3 separate regions of the Homo sapiens genome follow, and regions 1 and 3 are each linked to region 2. The links are contacts of gene promoters, found by promoter capture Hi-C in blood cells and fetal thymus (Javierre and others, 2016). All regions are on one chromosome and are shown on one strand. The core of a region is centred on a gene start or on the middle of the fragment in contact, and the rest is flanking DNA. Distances in the headings are between cores, read along the strand shown.

What was found. Contacts are between HindIII fragments. The CHiCAGO score rates a contact against its expected background, and 5 or more counts as called.
Region 1: a contact is called between a fragment that was not itself captured here and the fragment with the promoter of HDAC1 in region 2, in 4 of 17 cell types (total CD4 T cells, non-activated CD4 T cells, naive CD8 T cells and 1 more). The highest score is 7.0, in total CD4 T cells.
Region 3: a fragment that was not itself captured here is called in contact with the fragment with the promoter of HDAC1 in region 2 in 3 of 17 cell types (total CD8 T cells, non-activated CD4 T cells and naive CD4 T cells); the score reaches 5.8 in total CD8 T cells.

Annotation. Positions count from the first base shown.
Region 1 is chr1:32,181,418-32,184,178 of GRCh38, reverse strand. It overlaps TXLNA (taxilin alpha), which reads right to left. Exons shown (of 11, transcript NM_175852.4): 3 at 2,602-2,761. Among named protein-coding and RNA genes, the nearest start is that of TXLNA, 3.1 kb to the right of the region's middle. The HindIII fragment of the contact is 4,926 bases long and covers 1-2,761 here.
Region 2 is chr1:32,290,763-32,293,641 of GRCh38, reverse strand. HDAC1 (histone deacetylase 1) reads right to left here and starts at 1,559. Exons shown (of 14, transcript NM_004964.3): 1 at 1,424-1,559. The coding sequence starts at 1,472. RefSeq lists enhancers at 120-694, 766-825 and a silencer at 1,436-1,845. The HindIII fragment of the contact is 8,638 bases long and covers 1-2,879 here.
Region 3 is chr1:32,387,759-32,390,692 of GRCh38, reverse strand. The region is part of intron 2 of BSDC1 (BSD domain containing 1); the gene reads left to right. Among named protein-coding and RNA genes, the nearest start is that of BSDC1, 5.2 kb to the left of the region's middle. The HindIII fragment of the contact is 8,104 bases long and covers 1-2,934 here.

The DNA.
Region 1 (2,761 bases), core at 241-2,740, 110 kb after region 2:
ATACTGTTTCAATGCAAGGAAGGCCCACCCTCCTGATAGAGGTAGGATCCAAAAAGGAATAGGTATCTTAGCCTCCTTGAGAAATACTAAACTCTTGTCAACAGAGTAGCCAAACAGTGAACTTTAAAATGAAGATACTTTCGGCCAGGCAAGGTGGCTCATGCCTGTAATCCCAGCACTTTGGGAGGCCGAGGCAGGCGGATCACGAGGTCAAGAGATCGAGACCATCCTAACATGGTGAAACCCCATCTCTACTAAAGACATACACAAAAAAATTAGCTTGGTGTGGTGGCACGCGCCTGTAGTCCCAGTTACTCCGGAGGCTGAGGTAGGAGAATCGCTTGAACCCAGGAGGCGGAGGTTGCAGTGAGCCCAGATCGCGCCACTGCACTCCAGCTTGGTGACAGAGCGAGACTCTGTCTAAAAAAATTAATTAATTAAAAAAAAAAGGCAGGGTACAGTGGCTTACGCCTGTAATCCCAGCACTTTGGGAGGCTGAGGCGGGCGGATCACGAGGTCAGGAGATCAAAACCATCCTGGCTAACACAGTGAAACCCCGTCTCTACTAAAAAAAATACAAAAAAATTAGCCGGGCATGGTAGCAGGAGCCTGTAGTCCCAGCTACTCGGGAGGCTGAGGCAGGAGAATGGCGTGAACCCAGGAGGTGGAGCTTGCAGTGAGCCGAGATCGCGCCACTGCACTCCAACCTAGGGACAGAGCGAGGCTCCATCTCAAAAAAAAAAAAAAAAAAAAAAGGCAGGGTACGGTGGCCCACGCCTGTAATCCCAGCACTTTGGGAGGCCCAGGTGGGCGGATCATGAGGTCAGGAGATCGAGACTATCCTGGCTAACACAGTGAAACCCTGTCACTACTAAAAAAATACAAAAATTAGCCGGGCATGGTGGCAGGCGCCTGTAGTCCCAGCTACTCGGGAGGCTGAGGCAGGAGAATGGTGTGAACCCGGGAGGCGGAGCTTGCAGGGAGCTGAGATCGCGCCAGTGCACTCCAGCTTGGGTGACAGAGCAAGACTCCATCTCAGTTGGGGGTGGGGGGTGAAGAAGATGATACTTTCCATGTATGTGACGTTAAGATTTTTTCCTTTTTCTTTTTTTGAGATGGAGTCTCACCCTGTCACCCAGGCTGGAGTGCAATGGCATGATCTCAGCTCACTGAAAACTCTGCCTCACGGGTTCAAGTGATTCTCCTGCCTCAGCCTCCCGAGTATCTGGGATTATAGGCACGTGCCACCACGCCCGGCTGATTTTTTGTATCTTTAGTAGAACTGGGGTTTCACCATGTTGGCCAGGCTGGTCTCGAACTCCTGACCTCATAATCTGCCTGCCTTGGCCTCCCAAAGTGCTGGAGTTACAGGTGTGAGCCACTCTGCCTAGTCGTCCCTAAGATTTTTTAAAGTTCCTCTTTAAAGTAAGAGGATACATAAGGGGAAAAGGGAATAGGAATAAAACATGGATATAATGACACTCGACTTAGATTCTAGATTCTTTTTTTTTTTTTTTGAGACAGAGTTTCACTCTTGTCACCCAGGCTGGATGTAGTGGCACAATCTCAGTTCACTGCAACCTCTGCCTCCCGGGTTCAAGCCATTCTCCTGCCTCAGCCTCCCAAGTAGCTGGGATTACAGGCGTGTGCCAGCATGTCCAGCTAATTTTTGTATTTTTAGTAGAGACGGGATTTCATCATGTTGGCCAGGCTGTTCTCGAACTCCTGACCCTCAGGTGATCCACCCGCCTCGGCCTCCCAAAGTGCTGCAATTACAGGCGTGAGCCACCACACCCGGCCTAGACTCTTAAACATACATACCCTGCTGTAAAATGACTGTCACTGCCTATTCCCCATTGCCTGTGACTGAGTCAGGGAGCCTTCCCTCTGCCTCCCCAGAAGGGCCCAAGAGATCAGCATGGAGACTGCAATTCGCAGGCATGTGTGCCAAATCCAACCCACGGATGGGTTTTGTTTGGCTCTTACCATTTTAGCTGCTAACTATGAAAAAATCTAGAGTTCTCACATAACTCTAGATTTCTGGCTTTTCTTTATTTAAAAAAAAAAAAAAAAAAAAAAAGCCTGACTGCACCCAGCCTGTAGTTTTGCCTGCTCTCAGTTGGCTAGCTGAGAGCAACTAATCAGGAAGCAGTAAAGCCTCCATCTTCAGGTGGCCCCATGGCCAGCCCAGCTTATGCAGATATTTGGGTTTTCAACTCTGGCCTAGTCTAATTTTCTTACTGTAAAGAGAAATATAAACTAAGACCCAGAGAGGAGAAGGGACACACCCAAGGTCACACAGCAGGTAGTACTGGCTGGCACAGGAGCCTACCCTAGCCTCCCGTCTCCATTTTCTCAAAGAGAGAACAGGTCCCATGCCAAGCTCCAGTTGCTCCAAAACCCAGAAGGCTTTGTGCTGGTAACTCCTGCATCTCTCTATGCCGTGGCCCCCACATCCCTGGCTTTGATTAGACTAGAGTGACTTGCTGCTCTGAGAAGTACCGTTTTCCTTTGAATCCTGGCAGAACAGACTGGCCCAGAGAACGTCAAGTCCAAACTCCCTCTCCTCACCAGCTTCACAAAGAGCCGCCCTCTGCTCACCCAAACCCTTGGCTTTTTTCTTCTCCTGTGGCCTTCGATGGTCTCGGTCTCCGACCTCGTCACTCTGCCGGATCTCTTCTGTGTTTGGATCCCCCTTGGAGGGTTCCTTCTCTCCATTGACTACTGGAGTTGGTTCAGGCTCCCCATTCCTTGCCACATA
Region 2 (2,879 bases), core at 310-2,809:
GTGAGCCACCGTGCCCAGCCTAAATTTTGTATTTTTAGTAGAGATGGGGTTTCACCGTGTTGGCCAGGCTGGTCCTGAACTCCTGGCCCCGAGTGATCTGCCTGCCTCAGCCTCCCAAAGTACTGGGATTAGAGAGGTGTGAGCCACTGCACCTGGCCCCCATTACTTTAATTTCTAAGGTATAAACCTGATGATGTCAATAACCTGCATAAAACTTGAATCACTCACAAGTGCCCTCAATAAAGTCCAACTTCCTTGGGACAGCATGCCCAGCCCTTCATGGTCCGGTCCCTATTTACATCTTTTTTTTTTTTTTTTTTTAAGACAGAGCCTCGCTCTGTTGTCCAAGCTGGAGTGCAGTGGCACGATCTCAGCTCACTGCAACCTCTGCCTCCCGGGTTCTAAGGGATTCTCCTGCCTTAGGCTCCAGAGTAGCTGGGATTACAGGCGCACACCACCATGCGCGGCTAATTTTGTATTTTTAGTAGAGACGGGGTTTCACCATGTTGGCCAGGCTGGTCTCGAACTCCTGACCTCAGGTGATCCACCAGCCTCGGCCTCCCAAAGTGCTGGGATTACAGGCGTGAGCCACCACGCCCGGCCAAATGCCTGTTTTTCAAAGGTCCTGTCCTCTCTCTTGCCTCTGAAACTTGCTGTTATCTTTGCCTTCCCTGTGCCTGGCTAAGAACTCCTGTTCTTCAGGTCCTAACTAAGATGTCCCCTCCTTCGCTGACTCCTCAGGTGGAGTTCGGTGCCTCTTCTCTGTGCTCCCCTAACACTCTGAGCTCTGACACGGAGAGAACTTCGGTCACTGGGAAGGGTGACCCGATCAACCCCACGGCCCCAGCCCCTCAACACTTCCTCGAACACAGTAACCTGCTTGAGAGATTAAGTGAGAAGTCTGTTTTAACAGGTTGCATCCTTCTCCTTGCAACCCCTGGCGCCCCACGTCGCAGTAGCAACCGCAGGCCCCGCTCAGAGGCTGGGGGAGGGGAGGCGGGCAACCAGTCGTGCAGGACTCTTCCCCCAGAAAAGATGAGGAAGGGACGGGGCAGGGAAGAGCTTTGGGTTCTCGGCAAGAAAATGTATCCTTGCAGCCGTCTCCATCAGATTCAGCCTCCCCGCTCCGACGCACCCTCCCCTCTAGGAGTCCCACTCAAACTCTCCACATCAGACTTCCTCAGAATCTTCCCATCAAGATTACCTCACGCTTCCCCCACGCGATCCCCTCTTGGTCTCAGCCTCGATCTCCCTTCCTCGCAGCCTCCTCCCTCAGCCTCGACTTCCCCCTCGCAGCCTCCTCTCCGAGCCTCTCCCCAGCGCCTCAGCCTCCCGCAGCCTCCCATCGGCGCTCCAGCCTCAGCCTCCAGGTTCCCGGTCCGGCCCGGCCTGGCCCCGCCCCCGCCGCGAGGACGGTGCTCACCGTCGTAGTAGTAACAGACTTTCCTCCGGGTGCCCTGCGTCTGCGCCATCTTGCTCGCCTCCCGTCCCTACCGTCAGTCGGTCCGTCCGCCCTCCCGCCCGCGGCTCCGCTCAGCGTCCGACCCAGGGGGGAGGGGGCGGGCCTCCGGCCCGCCCCGCCCGTCCCCTCCTGGGCTCACCTATAGCCGCGCAGCCCGGGCACCGCTCCAGCCAATCAGCTTGCGCAGACACGGGCCCGGAACTCGGCAGGGGGCAAGGGCAGCCCGGAGAGGCCGCCGAGGGCCCCCTGGGCCTGTACCAAGGTCTGCGACAGATGGGTGGGGAGCCGCCCGGGGACCGTACCATCAGTCCCGGGGGAGGAAAGCAGCTCTGTAAACTTAACAGTCCCACTTCGTCGTGAAAAGCGTGCTTGGAGATCGGAGGCCAACTTTCTGATTTTACGGAGAATAAACCGAGGCCTACAGGGGAAAAGTGACTTGCACAAGGTCACTCAGCCAATAAAAGGGCTGAACCTGGGTTAGAAAGCGAGTTTGTGGCCGCAAAGGAGGGCTACAGAAAAATAATTAAAAAGAAAAGCAACACGCGGGTTTGGAGAGGAAGAAACCGACAAGAAAGGGAAAGAAAGCTAATGTTTGTCGAGGGGCTGCTGTGTGCCAAGTACTGTGCGACACTTTACCAATGTTATTTCAGTTTTTCCTCAAAACAGCTCTCGGCCAAGGGCTTTTTACCTCCATTTTACAGGACAGGATAAAGAAGTTCAGACTTCTGTGAATTATTCAAAGTTACACAAAGTAATTAAATTCAATTTTTTAATTGTACAGGGTTTTTAAAATGCTTTCTTTGCACCAGAGGCACTGTAACAAAGTGACAGAACCCAGCCTTTCAGACTCCAAAATCTACCTCCCTGATGCAGTCACCCAGGATGACTAAGTAGGCGTCTCTTTAGACAGGAGGAAATGGGATTATCCTATGATAGGAGGGCAGGTTTCCTTTCTTTTCTTTCCCTGTTTTTTTTTTTTTTTTTTTTTTTGAGACAAGAGTTTCGCTCTAGTTGCCCAGGCTGGAGTGCAATGGTGTGATCTCGGCTCACCACAATCTCTGCCTCTGTGTTCAAGCGGTTCTCCTGCCTCAGCCTCCCGAGTAGCTGGGATTACAAGCATGTGCCACCATGCCCGGCTAATTTTGTATTTTTGGTAGAGACTGGGTTTCTCCGTGTTGGTCCAGGTGGTCTCGAACTCCTGACCTCAGGATCCGCCCACCTCGGCCTCCCAATATGCTGAGATTACGGGCGTGAGCCACAGCGCCCGGCCTAGGAGGGCAGGTTTCTCAGCCTGGTAGCTAATGACATTTTGGGCCAGGTAATGCTTTTTTGTAGGAAGCTATTCTGTGCATTAACAGCTTCTGTGAAGCTGTTCTGTGCCTGGGCAACTAGAGTGAAACTCTTGTCTCAAAAAAAA
Region 3 (2,934 bases), core at 379-2,878, 97 kb before region 2:
GCAGTCTGCCCACCTTGGTCTCCCAAAGTGCTGGGACTACAGGCATGAGCCACCATGCCCGGCCAGCTTTAGTGTTTGAGGATAGCTATTGCTGGACAGCTATCCTAGACAGCCCACAGTCATCTCAAGTTCTGCGTGCCCAAAGTCATTGTTACCACCTTGTCTCTAGGACTGCTCCTCCTCCAGGATTTTCTCACTTAGCTGGCAGTACTGCATCTACGCAGTCACCTATTTTAGCAGCCTGTGGTGCTTCCATGATTCTTTTCTAGCCCTCAGTCAACATACCTGTTCAGTCACCAAATCCACCTTCTTCCATCTCCTGTATCTTGAACCAGTCTCATCCTCTCCATCTTTACTAGCATTGTCCTTACTCACATTTTTCTATTTTCTTTCCTGGATTATTGCAGCAGCCTCCTGACTGGTCTTCCTTCTTCCTCTTCTAATCTTCTCGCCTCTGGACCTTTCCTCCATTCCAGTCACTGGAGTAATTTAGTGAAAAGGCAAATCTCATGTCCCACCCACTTCAAACCTTTGGTGGCTCCCCATCATCCATAGGGCTGACCAGGCTCTCCCTGGTTGCCCTTGGCAACCTCTCCAGCTTTATCCCTCACCACTCTTGCTTCACATTTTATGTCCATCAGGACTGTAATGCTTGTAGACGTCACTAAACCCATGTCAACACTTCTTAGCTGACTCCTGTTCTTTTTTTTTTTTTTTTTTGAGACAGGGTCTCACTCTGTTACCCAGACTGGAGTGCAGTGGCATGATCACAGCCCACTGCAGCCTCAACCACCCAGGCTCAGGTGATTCTCCCACCTCAGCCTCCTGGGTAGCTGGGACTATAGGCGTGTACCACCACTTCTGGCTAATTTTTTGTATTTGTGTGTGTGTGTGTGTGTGTGTGTGTGGAGACGGTTTTGCCATAGTGTCCAAACTGGTCTCAAATTCCTGGGCTCAAGCAATCCTCCTGCCTCGGCTTCCCAAAGTGCTGGGATTACAGGCATCAGCCACTGCACCTGGCCCACATCAATACTTCTTAACCAACTCCTGTTCATTCTTTAAGGGCCCATTCCAGGCTTCTGGTCACCACATCTTCCCAACCTCCCCATAGTACAGCAGCTACTGCTCTGCCCTTGCACATCAGCACTATCATGGGACCATTTTCCCCAGTAGACTGTGACCTGCTTGAGGGCAACGTATGTTCATGTTTGTCTGCTCAGAGCTCACAGTCTAGCGGGAAGACAACTGTTTAGTCACACAAGTGGTTACATAATTGAAATTTCAATGGTCCATGTAAATTTAACAAGCAAACATTTTTTGAGTACCTACTGTATGCTCTGTGTCAGATACTGGGGAACCATCAGGGAACAAAACACATAGGACCTGTGTTCACACAACTCACAGTTTATCCAGGAAGACAGACATTGAACAGGTCATCTGAAGTCTAAACTATGTTCAGTGTTAGAAAAGAGATAAATTGGGAGGCCAAGGTGGGCGAATCATGAGGTCAGGAGATCGAGACCATCCTGGCTAACACAGTGAAATCCCGTCTCTACTAAAAATACAAAAAATTAGCTGGGCTTGGTGGCGGGCGCCTGTAGTCCCAGCTACTCGGGAGGCTGAGGCAGGAGAATGGCATGAACCCGGGAGGCAGAGGTTGCAGTGAGCAGAGATCGCGCCACTGCACTCCAGCCTGGGTAACAGAGCGAAACTCCATCTCAAAAAAAAAAAAAAAGAAAAAAAAGAAGAAGAGATAAAGCAGGGAGAGCCAGCTGAGCCTGAAGAGGCAGCAGGAAGCCCCTCTAGGGAAATGAAGCATAGACGTTGAGGATGAACAGGAGTTTTCCAGATAAGAGGGTTCCTTCATCGTGTTTACAGACTTGGTTTTTTTGAAGAGTTAGAACTCTGTATCAGGGAGAGGAAACAATGTGTTCAGATACTCTGAGGCAGGACAGATGCTAGGGCATTTTAGAAACTTGAGGAAGGCCAGCTGGAGCTCAGTGAACGGCACAGTGGTAGGGGATACCAGTCTGCCAGAGGCCAAGTTATATAGGCTTTGTAAGTAAAGGTGGATTTTCAATTTGCTCTTAGGATAGTGTGTAAACTTAAAGAGTGTAAAGCAGCACGGTCTGCCCTGACAGACAAAGCACCCACTGGGTGTCATAAGGAGAATGAAGTAAAGGTGGCTGAGACAACCTGGGAGGAATCCAGGTGAAAGAATAAGTTGGCCTGGACTAAGATGGTGGCAGTGTGGATAGAAAGAGTGAATCGGTAAATGACCCAGGGCACAATTTCATGGTGCTGTGAAATATTTTTTAAAATTTTAATAAAAGTAAATAAGTAAATGACCTCCTCCACCCCCAATTAAGGAGTCCTGAGTTGATATGGAGGCATGATTACCACCCCTAGAGAAGCCTGTAGCTGATAGACTGTGCCATTCAGAAACTTCCCAAGCTAATGAAAAGTGGGCAGGCCCTTCCCAGAAGAACAAACCACAGGAGCGCTCAAAAACATGCTTTAAAAAATGCAGGTGATTATCCCCGTGTAAGATGAAAGGGCTTGCAGGGGGAGTGGCCACTGAGATACTCCAGGAAGCATCCTAGAGTTGGTGAGTCTGAAGCAAGACAGGGCAAGACCTAGAAGTGAGCTGAGGGTCTGCTTTCTCAAGTGAGGTCTGGGTGCAGGCTGAGAAACAGATTGGTTTAGCAGGAGCAAATATGCATTCTGCCCAAAGGAGCTTTGTATATGAATAGAACCTCGGGATGGTAGAACCAAGAAGGCCTCCAAGAGAATCTGATCTAGTCTTTCTCTTGACCGCTTCCTCCTTTGTTGAATGTAAAAAATCACATGCCTTTTTACTGATATTAAATTGTTAAGAATTACTCATAAAATAGCTTTCCAAGCTATTGCTGTTACTAATACAATTAGTAATTA